Regions from separate parts of the Homo sapiens genome. Here regions 1, 2, 3 and 4 are each linked to region 5. The links are contacts of gene promoters, found by promoter capture Hi-C in blood cells and fetal thymus (Javierre and others, 2016). All regions are on one chromosome and are shown on one strand. Each heading gives the region's core, a stretch centred on a gene start or on the middle of the fragment in contact. The rest is flanking DNA. Distances are from core to core; before and after follow the strand shown. Region 1 overlaps LOC124904538 (a long non-coding RNA gene). Region 2 holds the start of LOC105373124 (a long non-coding RNA gene). Region 3 has its middle 2.6 kb from the start of H3-4. Region 4 overlaps OBSCN (obscurin, cytoskeletal calmodulin and titin-interacting RhoGEF). Region 5 holds the start of WNT3A (Wnt family member 3A).

What was found. The method cuts DNA at HindIII sites, captures the fragments that hold promoters and counts their contacts. A CHiCAGO score of 5 or more calls a contact.
Region 1: a contact is called between a fragment that was not itself captured here and the fragment with the promoter of WNT3A in region 5, in 4 of 17 cell types (M0 macrophages, M1 macrophages, endothelial precursors and 1 more). The highest score is 6.8, in M0 macrophages.
Region 2: a contact is called between a fragment that was not itself captured here and the fragment with the promoter of WNT3A in region 5, in 1 of 17 cell types (M0 macrophages). The highest score is 7.3, in M0 macrophages.
Region 3: a fragment that was not itself captured here is called in contact with the fragment with the promoter of WNT3A in region 5 in 1 of 17 cell types (monocytes); the score reaches 6.6 in monocytes.
Region 4: a fragment that was not itself captured here is called in contact with the fragment with the promoter of WNT3A in region 5 in 1 of 17 cell types (monocytes); the score reaches 5.2 in monocytes.

Annotation. Positions count from the first base shown.
Region 1 is chr1:228,438,063-228,441,574 of GRCh38, reverse strand. All of the region lies in intron 1 of LOC124904538 (a long non-coding RNA gene), which reads left to right. Among named protein-coding and RNA genes, the nearest start is that of H3-4, 14 kb to the right of the region's middle. RefSeq lists a silencer at 902-1,186. The HindIII fragment of the contact is 955 bases long and covers 1,225-2,179 here.
Region 2 is chr1:228,508,016-228,511,470 of GRCh38, reverse strand. It overlaps LOC105373124 (a long non-coding RNA gene), which reads right to left and starts at 3,424. Exons shown (of 3, transcript XR_949233.3): 1 at 3,349-3,424; 2 at 2,637-2,770; 3 at 1,339-1,580. It also overlaps the pseudogene BTNL10P. RefSeq lists an enhancer at 1-333. The HindIII fragment of the contact is 4,514 bases long and covers 1-3,455 here.
Region 3 is chr1:228,420,980-228,424,489 of GRCh38, reverse strand. No RefSeq gene overlaps it. Among named protein-coding and RNA genes, the nearest start is that of H3-4, 2.6 kb to the left of the region's middle. The HindIII fragment of the contact is 529 bases long and covers 1,425-1,953 here.
Region 4 is chr1:228,377,051-228,380,327 of GRCh38, reverse strand. It overlaps OBSCN (obscurin, cytoskeletal calmodulin and titin-interacting RhoGEF), which reads right to left. Exons shown (of 116, transcript NM_001386125.1): 112 at 3,037-3,276; 113 at 2,616-2,839; 114 at 2,322-2,397; 115 at 1,908-2,057; 116 at 1,452-1,710. The coding sequence ends at 1,533. Among named protein-coding and RNA genes, the nearest start is that of TRIM11-AS1, 16 kb to the left of the region's middle. RefSeq lists an enhancer at 1,661-1,730. The HindIII fragment of the contact is 9,621 bases long and covers 1-3,277 here.
Region 5 is chr1:228,005,469-228,009,219 of GRCh38, reverse strand. WNT3A (Wnt family member 3A) reads right to left here and starts at 2,222. Exons shown (of 4, transcript NM_033131.4): 1 at 2,021-2,222. The coding sequence starts at 2,091. The HindIII fragment of the contact is 11,751 bases long and covers 1-3,117 here.

The DNA of each region.
Region 1 (3,512 bases), core at 453-2,952, 430 kb before region 5:
TGGGTTTGGCCAAGGCTGTGCTTCCCTGCCCGAGGGATGGCCACTTTGCAGGCTGTAACCCTCTACAAGAAGTGAAATCTGCTTTTCCAATTTATAGATCCTGTGATTTTTTCAGTTAACGCAAAGATAAAGCTGGACATTAAAGCAGTGAAAACAGATTTCCATTCAGTGCCAGCTGCAGTCAGTACAGAGTCGCCTCCATTGTAATTTGTGTAGGGGTGGCGGGGTGTCTTAAAGGGAAGGAGATGGGGTGAGCGGGGGCTCCGTGCCAATCAGATGAGACCATCTGTGTCTGCTAGTCAGCCAGGCCCAAAGTCAGGATTCTACCTTCTGGCAGAGACTAAGGCCTTCTCCCTCCTGGTTTCAAAGGAATGGCTCTGGGTTCCTCGAGGAGCCACTGCTAGATTGTAGGAGACACATGGACATCTCAACACGCCAAAGGAAGCATTCCCAGTTGTGAGCTGGTTTCAGTAAATGCTCTAGGAAAGGAAGAGCCTGGACCAGTCTTCAGGTGTTGGCTGGAATAGAACAGCAAATTCCTGCCACAGCTGCTATGGTCTGAATATTTGTGTCCTCTGATGTAGAAAAAAAACAACTGTTTTTCCTCTGATCTCACAACACAACAATGAACACAGAAGACATCTGTGACCAAACATGTGAGGATTTCTCCCTATCAGCAAGCAAGCAAGCAACCAATGTTTTAGTGGGCACCAGTTAGGTGTCCTTGAACCCAATTTAATTCCGACTTCAGCCAGGCACAGTGGCTCATGCCTTGGTAATCCCAGCGTTGGGAGGCAGAGGTGGGAGGGAATTGCTTGAGCCCAGGAACTGGAGACCAGTCTGGGCAACATAGCAAGACTCTGTCTCTACAAGAATGAAATAAGTAGCTGAGCACGATGGTGCATGCCTGTAGTCCCAGCTGCTCAGGAGACTGAAGTAGGATTGCTTGAGCCCAGGAGTTCCAGGCTGCAGTGAGCTAGGGTCTCACCACTGCATTCCAGCCTCGGCAACAGAGCAAGACCCCATCTCAAATAATCATAACAATAAAAAAACTAAATAAATAAACAAATTCTGACAGTATCTACCTGGAGATTGCATCAGATCCTATAGGTTGAGGGCTCAGTCCCCGAGGCTGCCTCTACTTCAGACACCATGGGCAAGTCCAAGCCTCCAGAACTTCTGACCAGCTGTAACTTGGAGTTCCCTCGACTCCCTCTTTAAGCTTGATTAATTTGTTAGAGCAGCTCATAAAACTAGAGAAACACTTACTTACATTTACCTGTTTATTTAAAGAATAGTTTAAGGCTACAAATAAATAGCCAGATGAAGGAATGCAGAGGGAGAGTTCTGCAAAGGTCCAAGCGCAGGGCCTTCTGACCCAGCGGAGTTGGGCTGCGCCACCCTCCCAGCCTGCAAATGAATTCTCCCTCACCCTTCCTGCAAGCCCCCACGAGTTCAGCCCTCCAGAAGCCCCCAAAACCTGTCCCCTTGGGCCTTTTATGGAGACTTCATTGGATGGACATGATAGAAGACAGCCATGTAGAAATGTGACCGGACAGAAAGTGTGGATGTAACCCCAACAGACTGAGCGGGGAACCCCAGCAGAGCCCATGTGTTCAGACTCTTCTTGGCCTCTCTGGGCAGCATCCTTCCTCCTGGGTATGGGGCAGGACCCTCTCTGAACTGGGAGTCTTATGACCCACAATCAGAAAAGGGAAGTCAGAAAATGTCCTTATGGCCAGGTCCGAGACAGAAAGGTGGGGAAAGACTACAGTTTTCATTTCTGTGGCCTGCCTGGGGAGCAAAACGAGTAGGTAAAAGGAGGGTGGGAGAAGGTCGGAGAGATAGGTTCTGTTTTGGAGGCCTGAGCACCCCAACATTCTAACAAATACTGTTGCTGCAGGACTTTTCCTTAGTTCAGCTAGAGAACTCCGGCCTGTGTAGTGCCTTCAGCTAAGGCGAACAGTGAAAGATGTGGAGGAGGGGAGTTATGAGAAGCAGTGGTGGAGAGGGCCGGCGAGTTAAGGCCTGGCATGTAGATTTCACTGGTGCTGTCTCCTGGCTGATAAGCATCTAAAATCATCTCACATGATTAAATTGATTCCTTCCTGGTGGAGAGGCAAAGACAACTTTGTCCATTTTGTCCTGCTTTTAGGAAAATAGGGGCAAGCAGAAAGCTTTTTTACATCCGTTGTTTCTCAACAATGGATTATTATTGGCCTTCAGCTCCAAATAATCCTTGTGCCAAAGTGGCATCCTTTGGGGAAGAGGTGGCATCCCTTGAGGAGGGGGTGGCACCTTTTAGAGATGGGTGGCTTCCTTTGGAGAGAGGGTGGTATCCTTTGGGGAGGGGTGGCATTGTTTAAGGAGGGGGTGGCATCCTTTGGAGAGGGTGTGGCATCATTTTGGAAGGGGTGGCATCCTTTGGAGGGGGTGGCATCCTTTCGGGAGGGGATAGCACACTCTACAGAGGAGGTGCCATCCTTTGGAGAGTCGGTGGCATCATTTGGGGAGGGAATGGCACCCTTTGGAGAGGAGGGGGCATCCTTTGGGTGGCATCATTTGGGGAGGGGTGGCATCCTTTGGAGGGGGGTAGCATCGTTTGAGGAGGGCTGGCATCCTTTGGGGAGGGGATAGCATCGTTTGAGGAAGGGTGGCATCCTTTGGAGAAGGTGTGGCATTTTTGAGGAGAGGTGGCATTGTTTGGGGAGAGTTGGCATCCTTTGGGGAGGGGGTGGCATTGTTTGGGGAGGGGTGGCACCCTTTGAAGAGGGTGTGGCATCTTTGGGGGAGGGGTGGCATCATTTGGGAAGGGCTGGCATCCTTTGGAGAGGGTATGACATCCTTTGGAAAGTGTGTGGCATCCTTTGGAGAGAGGTGGCAACCTTTGGGGAGGGCACGGCACCCTTTGGGGAGGGGTGGCATCCTTTGGGGAGGGTGTGGCATCCTTTGGAGAGGAGTGGCATCCTTTGGGGAGGGTGTGGCATCCTTTGGGGAGGGTGTGGCATCCTTTGGAGAGGGGGTGGCATCCTTTGGAGAGGGTGTGGTATCCTTTGGAGAGGTGGTGGCACCCTTCAGAGAGGGTGTGGCATCATCTGGGGAGGGAGTGGTGTCATTTGAAGAGGGGTGGCATCCTTTGAAGAGGGTATGGCATCCTTTGGAGAGGGTGTGGCATCGTTTGGGGGAGGGTATGGCATCCTTTGGGGAGGGGTGGCATCCTTTGGAGAGGGTGTGGCATTGTTTTGTGGAGGGGTGGCATCCTTTGGGGAGGGTGTGGCATCCTTTGGGGAGGGGGTGGTATCCTTTGGGGAGGATATTCTCCTATCTTTCAAGAGCAATGTACGTTGAGTGTGGAATGAAGAATAATGAATTATTATGACAAGGATTTGGGCTGTTTTAGATTTAATATGGTCCAGCTAATGCTGACTCCCCACCTCTTTCAATGGGATGAATAGCATTCCCTCACTCTTAAACTAAGAATCCCCAAATGAGAGGTGCACTAATTGCACCTG
Region 2 (3,455 bases), core at 388-2,887, 500 kb before region 5:
CCTCCTTACACCAGTGGACTGGAAAGTGAAGGGAAGGGAAAGAGAGAGATGGGGGGAATGAGAGAGACACAGAGAAGAAGAGATAGAATGAGAAAGAAGCAGGGAGAGACAGACAGAGGTGGAAAGAGAGATGGAGAGAAAGACAGAGAGATGAGAGAAAGACAGAGAGAGATGAAGAAAGAATGACAGAATTATAGAGATGGGGAAAGAGAGAGATGGAGAGGGAGGGACAGGCAGAGACAGAGAATGAAAGACAGGAGAGACAGAGATGGAGAGAGACAGAGAGAATGAGAAACTGAGAGAAACACAGAGAGAATGAAAGAGACAAAGAGACAGAGTCAGTGACAGAGAGAGGGAGATAGAGACAGAGACAGAGAGACAGTAAAAGAAAATGAGAAAGACAGTAAGCAACAGAGAGTGGGAGGAAGAGAGAGACAGAGAAATAATGACAGGAGACAGAAAGGCCAAGAGAGAGAAGAGAGTCTTCAGATACGGGAGGTTTCCCGAGTGACTCAGAACTTGTGCTTCGAAACAGACAAGCCTGGGTCCCATCTTGTGCCATGAATTCTACTTCTGCAACACAGGATGCCTATTCAATCTTCCTGGACCTTTTCCACTTTGCTTCCCTTCTTTTGTCTGGGAAATGGGGAACTCTGTTAGGGATGGTGTGTAACACAGGGTAGGCAGTTTGTGAAATTGCCAAAATACATTGGAAATCCTCAAGATTTTGTTTTTCCTTTAAATAGAAGCAGCCATGGCTGCAAAGATTCAAGCTGCTGTCTCTTCCTTCAGGGCTGGGCAGAGAGCCCAGAATCCAGGTGACAGACCAGCAGGATGGAGTCAGGGCGGAGTGCACATCAGCAGGCTGTTTCCCCAAGTCCTGGGTGGAACGGAGAGACTTCAGGGGCCAGGCTAGGCCTGCTGTGACCAATCTATCAGCCTCAGCCACCACCAGGCTCTGGGCTGTGGCATCCAGCTTGACGCTCTGGGACAGGGCTGTGGAGGGTCTCTCCTGCTCCATCTCCAGCCCCCTCCTCCCTGAAAGGAGGAAGGTGGCTGAGAGCCACCTGCCCGGTGAGTCCTCTATTCAGTTCTGTCCTCACAATCACTGAGCACAGGATTCCGTGGCCCTGGACACTGGGGACATTAAGAGACAGCTGTGGGGTTTGTGGCAAGCAGGGATGGGTGGCAGGTCCCTGTCCTCACATGGCTGGGGCATCCCAGGAGGTGCACTGTTTGGGTGCTGATTACTGAAGAGGAACAGAGATAAGGGTGCAGGGACCCTGGGGAGAGCCTTGCCTTTGGGGGAACAAGAAATGTACATCCTAATATCAACAGTTTTTAGGGTTTTTTAAAATAGGCTTTATTTTTTAAAGCAGTTTTAGGGTCACAACAAATTTTAGTAGAAAGTCCAGAGAGTTCCCATCTTCCCCTAACCCCCTCACACACCTTCCCCCAGCATAAAAACCCTACACCAGAAGGAACGTCCACCATGTTTGATGAACTTCCGTTGACAATGCCGTCAGCACCCAGAGTGCAGTTTTCATGAGGGCTCACTCTTGGCATGGTGTCCCATGGTTCTAGATAAATATATAATGCCACATATCTGTCATAGTATCATACAAAATAATGTCACTGCCCTTAATCCTCCGTGCTCCGCTCATTCATTCATCTCCCCTAACTCCTGGCCACCACTGATGTTTTCACTGTCTCCATAGTTTCCAGGTGTTCTGGAATGTCCTGTAGTTGGGACGGTGCCTCTGTAGCCCCTTCACTTTGACTTCCCTCACTTTGTGGTACGCATTTAGGTTTCCTCCATGTCTTTTCCTGCCTTGATAACTTGTTTCTTTTGTGAAATGAATAACGTTCCAGGATCTGGATGGACCACTGTTTATTGATCCATTCACCTACTAAAAAATATCTTGGTTGTTTCCAAATTTAGCTTTTCACAAAAACTTTCACTTTTACTTTTCTAAATGATGTCAAACTTACAGAAACTTTGCAAGATTAATAGAAAAGTTGTCTGTGCACCCTTTACTCAGATTCACCATATTTTTACCTTATTGCGATATTTCTTTTTATCACTTCTCCCTTTGTCTATCTACAAATAGATATCTAATATCTACTTCCTATGCATATGTCTAAACCCAACTGTCTTACTCCATTTGTGTGCCTATAACAAAATACCACAGACCAGGTGGCTTAGAAACAAGAGATAGCTATTGCCCACAGTTTTGTAAGCTGGGAAGTCCAAGATCAAGGCGTGGCAGATTTGGTGTCTGGCAAGGGCACTTCCTGGTTCATAGACAGCGCCTTCTCACTGTGTCCTCACATGGTGGAAGGGGTGAGGGAGCTCTCTGGGCTCTCCCCTTTATAAGGGCACCATTCCCATCATATCCGTTACAGGGGCTCCACCCTCATGACCTCATCACTTCCCAAAGGCCTCACCTCCTAACATCATCACCGTAGGGGTTGGGATTTCAACCCCTTTGGGGGACACAGACATTCGGTCCATAGACCAGCTGTGCAAATACATACTATTTTGGAAACTATTTCACAGTAATTTGCAAATATTATGTCCCTGGACTACTGAACTCTTTAGCAAGTTTGACCTCAGAACACAGAAACTCTCTTACCCCAATATTCCTGGCTTCTGGGAATCTTCTCCAGCTACCTTCTCCAGAAGCTCCCAGTTCACGGCATGGAAAGCAGCTCTGCCTCTGATCCTTGTTGCCATGGGACTCGTAATAGCTGGAGGCATCTGCATCTTCTGGAAACGTCAAAGGGAAAAGAACAAAGCATCACTGGAAGAAGAGAGGGAGTGAAGAGAAAAGGAGCAGAGGCGGCCCACCAGCAGCGACAAGGCTGAGCCATGGCGTGGTGAGCAGGGAGCCCCGACAAGGCACATCCTGCCCCCCCACCCCAAATCCAGGACCCTAACACGAAGCCCTGAGCTGAGGCTTCGTCCATGTGTCCTCAGACACAGTAGGAATGGGGTGGCCAGTGGGGATCCTCCCTCTGGCATTGCCTGATTATGATCTACCCAGTGAGACCATCTGTCTCCTAGCAATCCCTCAATTAAGTCTTCACTGGCTGATTTCAGGCAGGCTGGTTGGGCTCTGTCTTGAAAACAGACAGATCTGAGTTTGAACCCCAAGTCTGATGGGTGTGGGCTGAGGGACCTGGTGTGAGCCCTGAGCCACTCTGTCTGCTGGGAGTGCTGATACCATCCTGAAAGACCAACAGAGTAGCATTCAGAGCAAGGCCGCGTCAGGGAGGGTTTACAGTTGCAATCACTGTGATTATTCTCAATATTGACTGTGTCCTTCATTCATTCACTTCACTCACTTCCTCCTCTGTCATTTCAGGAGCTGAGGACTTGTTCCTAGACTTCAGAGCCCTATTTTGAGAGTAGAGATTGTGCTCAGCTGGTTATAAAGACTGCATTATGACAG
Region 3 (3,510 bases), core at 440-2,939, 420 kb before region 5:
TGGTCTTGTGTGTTCTCAGCTCAGCCTCTTTCAAATTAGGTTAGAAGTCCTGCGTGTGTGTGTGTGTGTGTACACGCAGCTTGTTTCCAGTGAGGTTACCAGTCCAGCTAGTCTTCTGCCTTGACAGCCCATCTCCTGTTAAGGCCAGCAAGTAGTATGTATTATCTTGGCCTATTTTAAGTTAGAAGTCCAGCTACTTCACCAGCATAGCAGCTTACGCCTGTAATCCCAGCACTTTGGGAGGCCGAGGCGGGTGTATCACCTGAGGTCAGGAGTTCCAGACCAGCCTGGCCAACATGGTGAAACCCCATCTCTAAAATTAGCCGGGTTTGGTGGCGCATACCTGTAATCCCAGCTACTTGGGAGGCTGAGGCAGGAGAACTGCTTGAACCCAGGGGGCGGAGGTTGCAGTGAGCCAAGATCATGCCACTGCACTGCAGCGTGGGCAACAGAACGAGACTCAATCTCAAAAAAAAAAACAAAAAAAAGTCCAGCTACTTGTGTGTTTTAACTCAGCCTACCTCCTGTTAATTTAGAAGGCTGGCTAGTTGTGTATCTTTTTAACTTGGGCTATCTCCCATTAGGTTAGAAGGCTGGCTAGGGGTGTGTGTGTGTGCACGTGCACCCATGTGCACACATATGTAGCTGTGGTGTTGGCCCATCTCGGGTTAGAAGTCCATCTCATTGTATGTGTTAACATACCCAATCTCCCATTCAGTTAAAAGGCTGGCTAGTCATGTATGTTGTAAATTCACCCTGTCTTCTGTTAGGGTAGATGACTAGCTAGTTGTGTGTGAGAAGCCCAGCTAGGCATGTGCATTGTTAATTCCTAAGTGAAATCAATACTGGGAAACCCCAGCCCAAAGTTCAAAGAGGGCACTCTGCCCTGGAAGTCAGTTTACTGAGCAGTCGCAGACAGGCGTGGCCCATGTGCCCAGCACTTTGAAACAGGCTTCCCAGCGCCACAAAGTAGTCTGGCAGTGCTCTGGGGATGAGAGACACAGAGACCAACTTGCTGAGAAATCCTACAGCTAGGGCAGCAGGCCACAGATCCAATAGTAGACTTATGTCAGGAAAACCTGAGGATGGCTGTGAGGATAAGGATGTAGGGATTGTCTCCCTCTGGTACAGGTTGGAATCATTTATTTGTGAAAGGCTTTATTAAATTGAATGAGGCCAAGCACTACCCCATGCTGGGATCATGGAGGGAATAAAATCCATTTCCTGTGGCTGCTGCCCACTCTGCTTTCAAGGTGCTTATGCTTGAGTGAAGGGGGCCTGTATTGTGTGTAGAAGCAATGATAGTAAAAGGTGCTCTTATACATAGCAAGGGATGTGCATAAAGTGCTATCAATAGGCAACAGTGGATTTTATAAGTCTCTTTGAACCCAATTTATAGCCTGTTGACTCAAAATTCAAAAGCTTCATCAATTTATTAGTACACACACAACTGAACATCATACCCTTTAAATCTCAGGATGTATTTAAACTTATGAGTGCCAGATCCTTGGAGGGCTATCCAGAAAGCCTAGAATATTCAGGGACAGCTATGTTCTGGTTTTGAAAGTCAGCTCTGACTTTCAATACTAGACTCCTTTGGGATAAATTTAAGTTTTCCCTTTTTGTTTTGTTTTTTCAGAGACAGGGTCTTGCCATGCTGCCCAGGCTAGAGTACAGTGGCTATTCACAGACGTGAGCATAGTGGCCAGCCTTGAACTCCTGGGCTCAAGCCATCTTCCTGCCTTAGCCTCCCGAGCAGGTGAAGTTCAAGTCTTCTGTGCTTTACAAAGCCCTTGTCCTAACAAAGTCTTGCCCAGTGGTGGAGAGCTAAACCTATGTAACCTTGCTGATGATCTTGCTGGATAGCCTGGAGGGAGCAGGAATTTGGGCAGTTAGCTACATTTGCGGAACTGGATGCAGATAATGCATTCTTGACAGGATCATGATCAAGCTTTGCCTTCTGTAGGAGACCAAGCCACTTAAGCAGCCCCCTGTCATTCTGGTCTTTGTATGAAGAACAGAGTCTAAGTTGGGCAGTGTGGCACATGCCTGTAATCCTAGCTACTGGGGAGGCGAGAGGATGGCTTGAGCCCAGGAGTTTTTGAGGCCAATCTGGGCAACAGACCCTGTCAAAAACAACAACAATAACAAAAACAACAACAACAACAACAAAAAACAAGAGCTTGGCCTTATATGTTCCTTGTTTTCACTGATTAATGGAGTGGATAGTGCACTAATTGTGCCCTATAAAGATACAGCAAGGCAATACAGGGCAATTTGTATCTCAGAACTGATTGCTGAGGACCTAAGGTGAGGAGCTAAGGAAGGAAGTTTAGACACAGGAAAAAAGTAACTGAAGTCTTTCTGGGTCGTGTAAGTGGGCACTTGAGGAAGTCTTTCCAGCCAGGCATAGTGGCTCATGCCTATAATCCCAGCTTTTTGGGAGGCTGAGATGGGAGGATTTCTTGAGGCCAAGGAGTTCAAGACCAGCCTGGACAACATGGCAAGACTCTGTCTCTACAAAAAATACAAAAATTATCTGGGCATGATGGCGTGTGCCTGTGGTCTTAACTACTTAGAAGGCTGAGGTGGGAAGATCGCTTGAGCCCAAGAGTTCCAGGTTACAGTGAGCAGTAAGCCGTGATCACACCACTGCACTCCATTCTGGGCAACAGAGCCAGACCCTTACAATTACGACCAGAGCCTTTGCTTCTGTATCCTGTGGGTTCTAACGATGTGAGATAGTAACTGAAATGTGGATATCTGTTCACTGTGTACTCAACTCTTCGAGCGCATGTACACTATGGAGGTAGCCTGAGCATGCAGTGTTTATAAAAGTGGAAAGAGTGGTTCTAAATATCAAAAAGTTAAAATTCCAGAAATAATAGAAAGGAGAGTTAGGCATTAAGAGATAGTGCTATGGGCCTTGGTGGACTGAACAAAGGAGGACAAAAGTGGGAATAAAGACAAAGACAAAAGAGTATATTTGGAAAAAGGGGTCAGGGGGCTCCTTGCTTCTAGTGAACAAGGGCCCTGAGCTTCTAGAGCCCTTCTTATTAAGTAAAGGAGACAGGGATAAGGGGGTGGTTGTGGTCAGCTGCTTGACTTAGTGCAGGCCTGCATGACTGCATTCTTTGAACAGTAGGCTCCAGATGTCCCAGTAGATAACCTCAAGGAGCACAGAGCCAGGGAATGAGGCCCTCAGCGTACCTTCTGGTGGCAGGCACAGATGCGAGTTTGCCCACATCCTGCATTCATGATAAACAGTTTGCTGTTTAGTCATATAGCCTCCAGTGGAATGCTGAGTTGGTCACGACCCTCAGGCTTTCAGCTCCCAACAAGATAGCAGAATAGACCTCCCCAAAATATGCAGATTTGATATAAGAATTATTTTGAGCTGAAGGCACTTGAAGAACAGCAGGTGTAAGAAGGGCCCTCTGACCCCTTTTCCTGAAAGCAGGTGATGAACCCTCCATGGGAAAGGTGCTTGCCTCTACCAGCAGGGAGAAA
Region 4 (3,277 bases), core at 179-2,678, 370 kb before region 5:
TTCTTTTTAGAGACAGGGTCTTGCTCTGTGGTCCAGGCTAGAGTGCAGTGGCACAATCACAGCTCACTGCAGCCTTGACCTCTGGGCTCACCTCCCGAGTAGCTGGTACCATGCTGGTGGCATGCACCACCATGCCAAGCTAATTTTTTATTTTTTGTAGAGACAAGAGTCTCCCTATTATTGCCCAGGCTTGTCTTGAACTCCTGGGCTCCAGTGATCCTCCTACCTCAGCCTCCCAAAGTGCTGGGATTACAGGTGTGAGCCACTGTGCCTGGCCGATGCTTGGATTTTGATTCAAAGTGTCCTGGGCTCAGTAAGATTTCAGGGGAGGTGTTCAGCATTTGGACATTGCAGAATGGACCCATCAGCATGTGGTCGTCATTGGGCCCCTGAGATGAGCTGAGAATCAGGAGGGTAGAGACTGCTGTCTACACCCTGCAGCCCCAGCCCCCCAGGAACGAAGCTGTCGTCCAACGTCAGCCTTGTTGCTGGGGACAGTGGAGATCATATCCCCACCCCGGGAACCCTGGGGCTGCTCGAGAAGAGGATGCTATGAAGAGCTGACTGTTTTGGTGATTAAAAGGAGTGTTTAAAACAACCGGGCCTCATTCTGGGTTGCATGCTGTCAGAGAGAGCCAGGACAACTCCATCACTGGATGTCCCCATAAATCTAAGCTGGCCAGGAATCAGCATGACCCATTTTAGCCAAGAGGGGTCGGTTAGCCTCCTCTCCATCTATGCTTAGACATAGGTATGAGGGGCCTGGCCTTGTGTCTGAGGGACCTCTGCAAAAGGTTTTATGTGCAAGAGGAGAAGGCCCTCCCTGCCAGCTCCCAGGTCTCCTGGGCTGCACCTATCTCAAGTTCCCTTTCCCACGTCAAAGAATAGGAGAAAGGACATTCAGCAGCGTTTGAGAGACAACGCGCGCACCCCACGGCCCAGGCTTCCTGCACTCCTGGCAAGGGGCAGGGCGGGGCTCGGCCAGCGTAGTCATTGCCCATGGAATCTCAAACACTGGGTTGCTTTTCACCGAGGCCACGCGCCAGCGACTCTGAAGCCTCCTCTCCTCCAGCGGATCGTGGCCCGCGGCTTCTCGCCCTCGCTTGCACGCTTTGCCCAAGAACTCTTCCCGGGGCAGAGAAGTTGTGGAAACAAGCGGCTGGCCCGACGGCGGAGAAAGCGGGCTGCGGGGCTGCAGGTCAGCGTGATGGAAGAGAGGAAGGCGCACGGCGGGTGGAATAAACGCGCATGGGTGTGAGGACGGAGACGCCCCGAGGGGCTGAACGCGCGGAGCATCGGAGTGAGGGAGCGACCCCTAAGGACGCCTTCTAAGGGGCTCACAGGCCCAAACACAGCGGGGCAGCCTGATCGGCGCCCCAGCCAGAAAGGCGGGGACAGAGCCCTCACTCCCTCTCCTCCCCAAAAGAAAATAATGCAACGAGACGGAAGACTTCTCGCCCGGCTGTGCGTTTTTATTGGCGCGTCTGCAGCGACCCCCAGCGGGGAGACCAAGGGTGTGGCCGGGGCGACCCTCAGCGCACCTGGGCCAGGTTGTGCCTCTTGTACAGCAGCGCGCGTCTCTTCTCGCGATTGCGCACGAAGACGCGCAGCCGCGCGGTAGGGAAGGTCACGGGCGCGGGCCGCGAACAGGCCGGGCCCTCCTCTGTTAGCCACGGGCACTGCAGGCAGCTGGACGCGCAGGGCCGGCCCCTGGGACGGACATAGGCTCAGCACGTGGCCCAGCGGCGGGAGGGGTGTGGGGAAGGCAAGTGGAAAAGGGGAGAGGGGGAAGGGAGAGTACCGAGGGGAAAGGGAGTGGGGGGGCGGGGCGGGGCGGGACGGAAGGAGGAGGGGGCGGGACGGGAGGAGGGGGCGGGGAGAAGGAGGAGGAGAGGGGCGCGCCTTACCAGGGCTGGGCGCACAGAGTGCTGCGCAGGAAGGCCACGGCGCCCCCGGACAGCCCCGCGTAGCAGCGGCTCAGCCGGACCAGCCCCTTGCGCAGTCCTCTCTGCAGGTCGCGTGCACCCTCGCTGCTCACCGGGTACTCGGCGCTCAGCCTGCGCAGGTGGCGGGTGCACGGGCCCTGAGGTCACCCTCCTTGGGTAGACCAGGGCGGAGGGGGAGGGGATGCAGGAGCACTGAGGTCACCCTCGGGTGGCCGGTGCAGGGGCCGTGAGGTCATCCTCGGGTGGACGAGGGTGCAGGGGCCGTGAGGTCACCCTCAGGTGGACGGGGGTGCAGGGGCCCTGAGGTCACCCTCGGGTGGAGGGGGGAGACTGCCCCGCCCACCTAGCAACCCCCAGACAGGTTGGAGGACTCACATGATGAAGGCTGTCACACCGATGGCCCAGATGTCTGTCTGTGGAACAGCCCCCTGGCCCTCCAGGAGCTCTGGAGCTGGGAGGGGCACATGTGGTTGGGCTCAGGTGGAGGGACACAGGTGGTGGGCATGAGTGAGTGGTCCCAGGTGGGATAGGTGGGGCACAGGTGTGTGGGCCAGGTGTGTGGCTGAGTGGGTGGCAGTGGAGCTGGGAGAGAGGACAGCACTGGAGGAGAGGGGGCTTCTTCCTGCCCCCCGCCCCAGGTGAGGTCCCCCCAACTGTCCACACACGCACCCATGGTCTCTAGGTAGTCCTTGAACTTGTCTGAGGGCAGCACCTTCTCCTGGCTGAGGCTCTGTGCATTGCCCAGGTCCACGACCTTGAGCAGGTTGTATTCGGTGATGATCATGTTCTCGGACCTCAGGTCCAGGTGCAGGATGTGCTGGTTGTGCAGGTACTGGGTGGCACTCAACATCTGCCACAGGTAGTCCTTCACCTCGGATTCTGAGTAGGAGGCCCTGGGGGGCAGAAGCTGCTCAGCCCAGGCTCCGGGGTGGGGGCCACCAGGGCCAGGGCTGAGACTACTCCCCGTGGACTGGGAGGGGCACTGGCTGTGCAGAGGGGCCTGGTCCTCCAGCCCCACCCCAGAGGCCTGGGTCCATCAGTCCATCAGTCCGTCCATCAGCTCAACCACACCACCCCAGGCCACCCTCACCTCTCGGCCAGGCAGGGGAGCAGCTCGGGCCCAGAGCACAGCTCCAAGATGAGCACCAGGTGCCGGGGGCTGAGGTAGGCTGCGTGCAGCTGGGCCAGGTGCGGGTGGCGCAGGCCCTTGAGGGCCTCGTATTCGCGCAGCACTGCTGTCTTGTCCTTGGGGTGGTAGGGGATGATCTTGGCGGCCAGCGCCCGCCCGCTGGCCTTCTCCCAGCATTGCCGCACCACGCTGAAGCGGCCCC
Region 5 (3,751 bases), core at 973-3,472:
CAGACTTGTCCCCAGGGAGCCAGCCTCCCCCAAGGGGAGGCTGCTTCTCAGGAAGCAGAGAATCCCCAAGTGTGAGAACCCTACTGAGAACAAAGTGGTGGTGGGGATGGGGGAGGGGTCCTCACCACCCACCCCGGTCAGTGTCAGGTGGGGTTCTATGCCCCGCTTCCCTGTGTGGCCAAAGGGCTGTCCTGGACTCTTGATAGGAGGGTGCGGAGGGTACAGGGACTTCACTTCTCTGCTCCTCCTGGCTCCCCTGCAGAATGCCTGACTGTCCCCGAGGGTGTCTCAGGGTCCATTCAGGGTAGAACACAGGGGGCCCAGGTGAAAAGGAGGTATACATGCATATGAGGTGGATGGGGACCGAGGCTAGGAACCCTCAGGGCCGACAAGACAAAGATCCTAGGGCGCGGGGTTGCCAGGAGGCTGGCGACATTTATGGGAAGGGCGCGGGGCGAAGGAGCTTCCTTTTGCGCTCAGGAACGCGGCGGCGGGTTCTAATTAGAAGCCTGGTGCGTAAGCCGGCAGCCCTCGGGGCTCTCTCGGACGGACGCGCTGCCCCTGGCTCCCTGCGGCCGTCTGGACGCGCGTCAGTATCCCCGCACCCCAAGGCGAGCCCCGAGCCTGACCCTCAGGTGGGCCACTGGGCGCAGCAGGTGCCGCACGGGAAATGGGGCACGCGGAAATAGGGGCGCGCGGGGGTCCCCGAAGCGCGTCCCCGCGGCCTCGTGGCCTCTTCCAGGCCCTTCAGCTGCCTAGGGCTGCCCCTTCCCCTCCCCGCTGCTCCTGGCCCGGCGCCCCTACCGCGGGAGCCCCCGCTCCTGAACCATCTCGAAGAGAAAAATTATTATCGGATTAGATGTACCTCGGCTCGCTGGGTCTCCCCCCTTCCCCTCGGCGTAATTATTATAATTCCAGGCTGCCGTCGGAGAAGGATGGGGGGGAGTGTGCATGCTTGTGGGGAGGCTTCTCTCCAACTGTGGGTCCTACCAGCGCTGCGCCCGGCCCTGCGCGCCCACATTCCTCCCACTTGTGTTCCTCAATCTTGGGCATCTCAGAGCGCCCTTAATTCGGAACTGGGGTGATCCTTGCTTGGTGAGGGCTCTGAGGGATCACAAGCCCTGGCGAAAGTGTGGCCACCGTTCCCCCTCCCACAGGATATGTGCAGTGGAGGTGGGAGGCCTGAGAGAGACCTTTCGGGACCCTTCCTTTGGTTTATCTGCACTTCCATCGCCAGGCTGGGGAGGGTCTCACGGAACGCGCCTTTTCTGGTGTGGAGGGCGCAGCACAGCGCTTTCTGATTGAGGGTCCTGGAGCCCCTCACACCCCGTGCTTAACTCACCCTTAACTCTCTCTACAGCAGCCCCTCATTGCCAGGTGGACCCATGCGGAGGGCTCGCAGAGAGGGCCCCTGGAAACCCCCGTGCCCGGACTGCGGCGGGGAGGCGCGCGGGGCCCAGGGCCGGCCCCCAGTGCGCCCCGCCGCCGGCTCTGCGCCACTCCCCGCCGGGTCCCAGCTTTCTTTACGTAACCACGCTGCTCCGAGCTGTTCAGTCTTGTCTCATCGACTTTGTTTTAAAACGTGTGTGTGTGTTTGTGTGTAAGATACGGTTTTTGAGGAAAGTCTCCGGCGAATTCTCTCTCGCTGGCCCTCTTCCCTCGCCTGTCCCCTGGCCTCGAGCTGCCTGTCCCCTCGGTGACCGTGCGTGCCGACCTTCTTTCAGCCTCTCCCCAGCCCACTGCTCGCCCTGTCCGACGCCAGGGGCAGCTAGGACCTCCGCAACCTCCCCTACTCCCCCGCTCGGGAATCAATGTCTCCGGAAACTCCGCCACCCACGCGTCCCAGCGGCCTGAACAGGTCCAAAGTGGCCGTCAAGGAAAACCAACCGCCCGCGGCCCGCACGCGGGGCTGGAGCAGAAGGGCGCGGGCTCGGGCCACCGCGGGGTCCCTGCCCGAGGGGACCGTCTGCTGCGGGCGCGGCGCACAGGGGCAGGGGCGAACGCGAGGAGGCTCACTCACCACCAGATCGGGTAGCTGCCCAGAGCCTGCTTCAGGCTGCAGAGGAGTAAGAAGTATCCGAGTGGGGCCATCGCCGCGCGAGAGGGCGCGGAGGGCCGGGAGTCCGCCCCGAGAGCGTGAGCGCCGGGGGGGGCCGGGCCCTGGGAGCTGGCGCGGCGGCGTCGCTGGGCCCTCCTGCGGCCGCGGGTGCGCGGGTGTGCGCGGGCTCCGAGGGCGGCGCTGCGCCAGGTGGGCCGGCGGCCGGGCTGCGGGCCGAGGCCCGGGGCGGCGCGGGGCGGCGGGGGCGGGGCAGCGCCGCGGGGGGCGCCCGCCGGGGCCGGGGCCCGGGCGGGGCAGGCAGGGGCAGGCGGGGCCACGGGAGCCCGAACCGCGGCGGCGGCGTTGGCCCCCGCCTGCTGCCGTGGGTGTCGGTGTGTCTGAGGACGTGCTGGTGTGCGGGCCCCCAGGTGTGCGCGGCGCGCTGGGGTGCGCCAGATGGGCAGGCGGCCGGCCCGGGGCCGCGCGATCCGCAGGCGCCCTCCTGGAGCTCCCGGGCCGCGTCCTGGGTTTCCAGCCCCGCGCGCCCTGCGCTCACGGTGGGACCCGCAGTCCCCCTCTCGCTCCTGGTCTGTGGCGAGCTCCGTCTCTTGCCCCCGAGGTGGCTGGGCTAGGGCTCCCCTTCATCCATCAACCTTCTCGGGGCGGGGGTTTGGGGAGGGAGCGGACGGTTGTCGGGTGCACGTCCTTTGGCCCCGTCTGCCTGCGGCCGGACTCCTTCCGCTGAGACCAGAGCTGCCTGCGCCTTCGGCGGATAGAAAGGGTCCGGGATGGGTGCAGCCTGCAATGGGGACAGCGGCCAGGTGGACCTCCAAGGTGCAGCCACGCGTCTGTGGGTCACAGCTGGGGACGAGTGGGACTCTCTCTGTGGCGCAGGGATTGACCCCTCCATTTTTCTCCCCATCACTCCACCAGGGAAGAGAACAGTGGAAGCCCCTGACGCGATGGGACGGTGGGGAAGCGCAGTGCTGCCCCCAGGTTCTGGGACCACCAACCTCCAGGTCTGCCCAGAGCTATGCAGCCTGTTCCGACAGAGGGATTTCTGACTGTTTAGTTAAGCTTTAGGAGTTTGCTGATGGAGAGGGGAAGACCTGAGAGGGAAAGTGACTTGCCCAAGGTCACCCAGTGACCAGTCAACTCTCCAGCTCCCAGTCATTTGCATATCCATGTGTTGCCCCGGGAGCCGCCTGGGGAGATTGTAATTTGCAGAGGGGAAGTGTCCCCAGCCTCCCCCGGGGGACCTGATAACTGGGATGGTTAAGAGGCACTCTCCCATCGCGGCTGGTCCTCCTGCAGTCACACTGTGACCTAAGCTCAGCAGGAATCTTGGTTACCGCGTTGGAATTGAGGAAGGAGGCTCCGGGAGCTTCTGAGAGCTCCAAGCAACTCCAGACTCATCCGTGGTGTGTTCTCTGGGGATACTGCACTGCCCAGCCTGTGGGCTAGGCCTCCTGTGCGGCTGCAGAGTTGCGGGAGGGAGGTGCATGGAGAGGCAGGGATGGGCATGTGGCCGCTTCTGTGCAGCTTCTCAGGGAGGGGGTGGCTGAGATGTCCCCAGGTGTGTCACTGGCTGGCTGATGGAGGCAGCTGCTTCCCACAGTGTGCCCCACTCACAACTTGGTTCTGCGTTTGCAGAGGGAGCCTGTGGTCCTGTGGACACCGGCCCTAGGGGTCACCTGGTGACTATGTCAGGAG